Linked DNA regions of Homo sapiens: region 2 is linked to region 1. Evidence: promoter capture Hi-C in 16 types of primary human blood cells and fetal thymus (Javierre and others, 2016). All regions are on one chromosome and are shown on one strand. The core of a region is centred on a gene start or on the middle of the fragment in contact, and the rest is flanking DNA. Distances in the headings are between cores, read along the strand shown. Region 1 holds the start of ACTR10 (actin related protein 10). Region 2 has its middle 3.8 kb from the start of NAA30.

Evidence for each region. The method cuts DNA at HindIII sites, captures the fragments that hold promoters and counts their contacts. A CHiCAGO score of 5 or more calls a contact.
Region 2: a contact is called between a fragment that was not itself captured here and the fragment with the promoter of ACTR10 in region 1, in 3 of 17 cell types (naive B cells, total CD4 T cells and M2 macrophages). The highest score is 5.7, in naive B cells.

What each region holds. Positions count from the first base shown.
Region 1 is chr14:58,198,361-58,202,083 of GRCh38, forward strand. ACTR10 (actin related protein 10) reads left to right here and starts at 1,789. Exons shown (of 13, transcript NM_018477.3): 1 at 1,789-1,934. The coding sequence starts at 1,858. RefSeq lists enhancers at 1,232-1,361, 1,982-2,171 and a silencer at 1,432-1,821. The HindIII fragment of the contact is 4,366 bases long and covers 1-2,147 here.
Region 2 is chr14:57,384,875-57,388,597 of GRCh38, forward strand. No RefSeq gene overlaps it. Among named protein-coding and RNA genes, the nearest start is that of NAA30, 3.8 kb to the right of the region's middle. The HindIII fragment of the contact is 1,551 bases long and covers 1,153-2,703 here.

The DNA.
Region 1 (3,723 bases), core at 539-3,038:
GCTAACAAATACAGCTGGTGAGCTGTCATGGAAAACATAGAATAGGTAATAACAAACTTCATCATTTCAATAGTTTCAGAAACATAATTTCAAATTGATCCTTACAAATACCTTGTGAAGCAGCAGAACAGTTTACAGATAAGGAAGTGGACGATCAGAGGTATTAGGGACTTGACAGAAAGTGGCAGAAACAGAATCTGAACTCAAGTAAGGGGTCCTATTCAAATAATCTGACTCTATTAAGCAAAAAATTTAATCTCTTCCCACGTTTCTTAAAGTTTTCTTCCCCGTCACAACTCCAACTTCATTCTCCTGTCTCCAGGAATTTGCTTTCAAGGAGGATCATTGATCAGTAATTTGGACTTAAACATGAATTTTACTAATATCACATTCCAAATTTCTGCATTGTTACAGCCTTAGTTTTTGTTATGGAAATAGCTTATCCCCAACTACCCCGCTAACTCTAGTTACCAACCATTAGAGTAGGGCCTTTTTTTTTTTTTTTTTTTTTTTTGAGAGACAGGCTCTCACTCTTGTTGTTGCCCAGGCTGGAGTGCAGCGGCACAATCCCGACTCACTGCCGCTTTAGACTTCTTGGGCTCAAGGGATCCTCCCGCTTCGGCCTCCCAAAGTGCTGGGATTACAGGTGTGATCCTGCGCTCGGACAGTTGGGACATCTTAATACAGTATAACCTCATCTTAACTTGATTACATCTGCCAAGACTCTATTTCCAAATAGGGTCACATTCTGAGGTTCCCAGTGGACAAGAATTTTGGGGGGGGGGGCATCATTCAACCCAGTACACCAGCTAAATGTTGCTAGTCCTCACCGATTTACCCTTGAACCTCTTTTCTTATTGCACAGCCTCTCCTTTGACAGTCTTTTCCACTCCTATGCATAGATACAGTTAGAGCTAATATTTGCAGGAAAAAAATATTTTCACAGAAAGCTGTGAAGTGACAAAGATGTAAACAGTAATGTAAATGTTAAAAGTAGTGGCAAAAACAGCAATTACTTTTGCACCAACCTAATAGGGGCCTTTGCTTCAATGTTTCTTCTATTAAACCATCCCGACCGCTCCTCTATGGACAGATTCAAGATTCACAGACGCTACTCTAGCTGCTTAATTCTGGAGTAAAATAAAAACTTTCAGAAAGACTACTAACTAAAGTATTGTCTGTACGTATTATTCTCTAAAGCATCATTAGCATAGGCTTTGCAATTAGGAAGTCTGTGGGTTTGTTCCTGGCTCTGCCGTGGGACATTGGGAAAGTTAATCTCTCTGAGCGTCGGTCCCCACAGATAAGAAAACACATATTCTTGTTATTTCTTGAGAAGATTAAATATTAGGCAAAACGCCTAGCACAGAATAGGGTCTCAGCATCTTCTGCCCCCCAAGAGCATGAATCAAAGGTTCGGAATTGCGTCGTCTCTCGGCTGCCCCTTGGCAGCCAGGTCCTCAGTGACCTCTTCACAGTGAGCTGAGACCGAACCTCTTCACAGCCGCGCGTGGGTGCGGCTTTGGGGCGTGGTGGGAGGGAAGGATAGGGAGGCCGGCTCCGCCCCCTCAGGGCGACCGGCGCGCCTGATCGCCGCGGCCTCCGCGCCCCCGCACTCGGATTCGCGCCCGCCAGCGCCTCTTTTCCCCTAGTCCTGGCGACGGCAGCACCTGCAAGGGTGGGTCCAACGCGGAATGAGGCACAGCCTGGGACAGCCCGGGCCCGGCGCGCCGCGGCCGCGCGAGGCCCCCGCCGTCGCCGACGCCCGAGCGCCGGAGCCCCGGCCCCGCCCCGCGAGCGCCGAGACTTGTTGGCCGCGGAGACTGCGACCCTCTTCTCTCAGTCTGCCTTACTACCATGCCGCTCTACGAGGGCCTGGGGAGCGGCGGGGAGAAGACGGCGGTCGTGATCGACCTGGGAGAGGCCTTTACCAAGTGAGTGGCCGTGACGCCAGCTGTGTTCGACCCGAGGGGAGGGCGGGTGGCAGAGCCCCAGGCACTGCCTGGGTCCTCATCGCCGACTCGCTGGGCAGCTCCGGGCCTCCCCTTTTCTTCAACCAGCGCCCTTGCAAATAACAGCTCTTATTATTTCCTCCCTGGGCGATGCGAATCCGAGGATCGGGGTCTGACTCCCAGAGAGGCCCAGAAAGCTTCTGTTGAATTGCCCTCGTCGCCGCCCCTTGTCATCACCCCAAACCCAACAAACCCTTTGGGATCATCTGTGTAGGGGATGACAACCGTGACCTAGACCCCGCTTACCCTGGGCTCCTCAGTTGAGGAAGGCAGCCAACCGAATGTAAATGCTCGATGACGAATTTCATCATAAAATATTGAACGGAGTTTATTTTGGTGCTGAAAATGGAAAGATGTTTAAGACAGGGCTATCGCTGCTCAAGAATTAGGGAGACTGGGCACATTAAGAGGTGAAACCCTATAGATAAGATTCTGGAAATCCTTTGTTGGCTCCCCTAAACTCGAAGGTTAGATTTGACATGTTTTAAACAAACCAACTTGTAAACAATAGAGAGGAGGTTCTCAACCTTTCGGATGGCATAGATCTCTTTAATGGCTGGATGAAAACCACAAATGCACAAATCTTAAGGTACTTATACACAGTTTCAGGGAATTGGCAGACAATCAATGTGGTCCTGGGACCCTAGATTAAGAGTCCTTGTGATGGGCTCAACAGAGAGGGAAGTAACAGGCAATTACATCATATATGTATTTATGAAAATGAAACATTTGAAAAATCTTTTTATATCTCTAGGCACTTCCTGACGTGTAGTAGGTATTTAATAACTATTTATTGACTAAGTGGTTAAAAGAGCCTATTTAAAAATTGGACCCCAGGAACTCCAGAATTGGATTAAACATAGTCCTTGGTTAATGACATTCTCTTATTGTTCTATGCGAGGCCCTTCCTTATTTATATTTTCTTATTAAAATTATTTTGAAAGCGTAATAAACAGTTCGAGGCTTCTAGTCAAAGATAATTATTTTGGCTGTACTTGGAAGAAATAAGCAAAAAGCTATATTTGAAAAAGACAGCAGGAGGATGATAAGATAAATGTATGAAGTAAAAAAAAGGAATTGAAGTCTAATGGCTTGCATTCTGAGATGTTTGAGGAGCACTGATGCAAGTAAACATGGAGACGGGAATAGGAGGAGATGGAGAGAATTATTTGGGAATACGAGGAGAGCAGTATCAAAAACTAGACAGGACAAGAAGACAGGATGTTAAGACTAAACTAGTATGATGATCATTTTTAGCAACGTTTTTAGCAAATTTTTGTTTTACTAACATGAAACAAAAATGGAAATACCTAAATACTCAAGAAAAGAGCATCGTTTTTAAAATAATGAAATATGTGGTTTTAAAAATAATACTGTAATTCCAGCAGTTTGGAAAGCTGAGGCGGGCTGACCACTTGAGCCCAGTAGTTCAAGACCAGCCTGGGCAACATGGGGAAACCCAGCTCTACACAAAATACAAAATTTAGCCGGCGGTAGTGTCGTGCCCGAAATCCTAGCACTTTGGGAGGCCAAGGGGGGAGGATCGCTTGAGCCTGGGAAGCGGAGGCTGCAGTGATCTGAGTTTGTGCCACTGCACTCCAGCCTGGGCGACAGAGCGAGACCCTGCCTCAAAAAAAAAAAAAAAAAAAGTGATAGCAATGAAGATTATGTTAATATGGGCAGAAGCTTACTGTATGAGTTAATTATGTAT
Region 2 (3,723 bases), core at 678-3,177, 810 kb before region 1:
GCTGTGAATGGCAAGAAGTAACTGCTGCTTCAAGGTAAGATCACCAAAAGGGCTTTGTTTATGTAGTGAACATAAGTGGTTGCCTTAACAGCATCCACTCCACATTCTTCTTCCTAACACAAACCCAATTTTGTTTAGTATACATCCCTTTTCCACACACCCATACACCTCCAAGGAAGCTCACCTCACTCTTAATCTCCTTCCAGTGATTGACTCAGAAATAGCATGTGATATATTCTAACCAAGAACATAGCCAGAGAAGTTGGTTAGAGGTTTCTGGAAAAGTAAATCTGCGAGTTACTGAAAGCCTCTCCCTTCCTCTTACTGGGCATGAATAAAGAAGCACTTAGCCCCAAACACTTTTGGCAGCCATATTATAACAATGAAGGAAATCAGCATTAGGATGGAGCTGATTCTGTGAATGGAAGGAGAGAGACAGAAACTTGGGTTCACAATGATATCATGAAACAACTAATCCCGAACCTCGCTCTGCCTCTGACTGTCTCATTTCCTTATTTTTTTTTAAAGCCAGATTGAGCTTGTGGCCAAAGCACCCTAACCAAAGTTTAGATTTGATTATTAGGCTATGGGAGTCTCTGAAGAGATTTAAGCCAGGGAGTGACAAAATAGGTTTGTATTTTGTAAGGGTGGCAGTGGTAGAAATGTTGAGGATGGATGGGTGGGATGGGAGATCAGCTAACATTTACGGGGGCTTCCTATATTCTCTGTATTAAACACTTTACATATAATAATTCATTTTACCCTTCCAAAACCCTACAAGGCATGTAATATTATCCATATCCGATATGAGGAATCTGAAGCCCAGACACATTAAGTTGTCAACACCACACAGCCAGTAATTGGCAGAGCCAGGATCTGAACTCCAATTTTACTTAGATACTCCTTCATCCCCCAGCCACATACATCAGGAGAAGCTCACCTCATACTCAATCTCAGACAGGCCTGATTGACATAAGAGTAAATCCAGCCCCTTTCCAGTGTCTGGCTCAGGAATAGGCCAGTGATCCAATTCTGGTCTGGCTTCTGACCACCAATTCATAGGGTTATCATAAGAACTAAATGAGCTATTATTTATAACATGCTTAATACATGGGAAGACCACAATAAATGGTAGCTATTGTTATTATTAAAAGCTTCTATTATCAAGAACAACTGAGAAAGAATGTCCAAAGGAGGGCAAGAGAGAGTGGAGAAGCCAAGGGAAGAGTTTCTGGAAGGACACAGCAGGATGAAATGCCACGATGGAATAAAGTGATGTGAGAACTGGAAGAGTCTAGTTAGGACATAACAGGTGATTTTTTGCCAGAGTGTTGTTTGAAGAAGGGCTGAGATTGAAGCCAACCCACCAATGAAGAGTGAACCTGCACCTGAGTAGAGACAGTGGATACCTATTGCAGATTAGGAGTTTGTGGTGAAAAGGAGGCAGGAAAAGGATGGTAGTGGGAGAAATCTCTAAATGGGGCATGTTTATAAACTTTGAGGCAGTAGCTAGCAAAGGTAACATGGAAAATTCAGGAGAGAGAAACAATGATGGGACAGGTTCTAAAGGAGCCTGAAAGAGAAAGCATCAAGCCCACAGGTAGAGGGAGGTATTAGTCATGAAGAATTGATCCATCTTCCACCCTCTTAAGACTGGGAGGGAGGAGGTAAGGGTAAGTTCAGATACAGATGAACTTATAGGTATGGCAGTAGAAGGCACACCTATGAAATAGTTCACTTTTCTTAGTGAAATGGAGGCAGGGTTATCTGCTGAGAGTGTGAAGCAAGTAGTGGTTGAGGACAGTTGCTGTTGGATGAAGCTGGCCTTGGAGACAGGTTAAAACAATTCTAGACAGCTGAAGGCATAGCTAAATTAGAGACCAAAAATTTTTTGGCTCTAATATGTAGGAATATATGATTCTCTCCAACATGTCTCACCAGCCCAGGTGTATCTGTGAGAATCACCCTGACCATGTCTTCAGGCAGGTCATGAAGAGTTAGTGTGAGGTTGAAAATAATGGAAATGGGGACCATTTGACCACAACCCTCTCTGGTTCTTCATAGTCCTCTGAGGCCTCAGTTCTACAAACAAAATTGATGCCTACCTACAATTGGTACTGCCATCCACTACTGGCAAGGGGAAAGAAGTTTAAAGAACAGACTGTCATTCCCCAAATTCGAAGGGAAGAATCAAATTGTTAGTCTTTTACCTGGGCATCTCAGAGTGTTCTAAGATTACAGGTAATACAACAATATACTAATATTCATCCTTTGGTTAAGTTCTTCAGCTCTCAAATTTGATGTATGTTCTTTCTTTCATTCAAGATGAAACAAAGTTAAGGACATTCATTTTCAGGGCTTTATGTATAATAGATAGGATTAGTGGGATTAAGAACCACATGACATGTAAAATAAAACTACACAAATATTTAAATTATTTAGTATGTGTGCCTATGGCACATAACAATGTCATCCTGCTGTGTCAAGGGAACTTAAAGCATCTTTCCATTATTCATTCCCACAGTTACCTTTCAGGTAGGTACACAGCTAGGTTTTCTCTCTAAACCTAGCCAATAAGAGAAAAATGCCTCACTGTTAGAAAGAATTAAATAGAAATTTTTCTCCTTCCAAGCTGATTTCAATAAATTGCTTCAGGATGTTGTTTTAAAATTGCTATTGGTTATTTTAATTGATTTAATGAGAAGCTTTTTTTTCTTCTAAAAAATTAAGGCATGTTCTCTTCTTCCTCAAAAGAGAACAACAATAGTAAAAAAAAAAAAAAAAGAAAAAAAAAGAAAAGAAAAAATGGCTGTTGCTTCATAGGATATTACAAAACAATGAAAATATCAACTAACCACACAGAAGAGTATCACTGCTACACTCACCTTGCTCTGAGCCCATTCTTTCCTATGAAGTATTGCTCATGGAGGTAGTTGTTTTTTCAGAGTCTCATAATAGTAAATATGTCTAAAGCATTAGAGTGAACTAATCCTATTTCTATGCCTAAAATAGTGCTATCATCCTATCAAGTAAACATGAATCAAATAGAAAAGATTTCATAAGTTATAAAGGCAATTTTTTTTAGAGATGTCATCTGATTTAGAAGGCCAACATTGTAATTTTAATACTGGGATATAAAGAAAAATCACTGGGGCTGAGACATTAGAATTACCCCACTAGTTATTGAGGAGGTCAGAATTTACTTTGTCATTATAAGCATTCTAGGTTACTGAATGAGAGACTGGTGTACTTCAGTCAAAAAGCTTAACAATTTCCCTTTTATGTGTTTGATATGTGAATACAAAGTGACTAACATTTACTCCCTGGCCTCAAGAAGGTCCTTACAACTCTTGACTTTCTGAAAACCACTTTGAGACAACATCTGGTCAGCTCCTCAGTGTGACAGAGCTCAATGCCAAGTTGCAACACAGAAAGAACAGGAAGGCCTGCTGCCATTCATTCACTACAGTGAAGGTACATGCTTTTTAGGAAGGGCTTACATTTAAAAGTAAATTACTGAGAGGTATTTTTCTAAGTAAAATTCACCCTTAAACATCTCTTATGGAATTATCTGGTGCCTCTTGGGCCAGTTTTTCCACCATGATTTGAACAGATCATTGTTTCATTGGCTGACTACCCAGGTTACACTTAGAAACTTTGAAAAACATGTATCTTTAAACAATGTATGCACATTTGGAAACATGGTTTTGTTTTGTGCTTTTT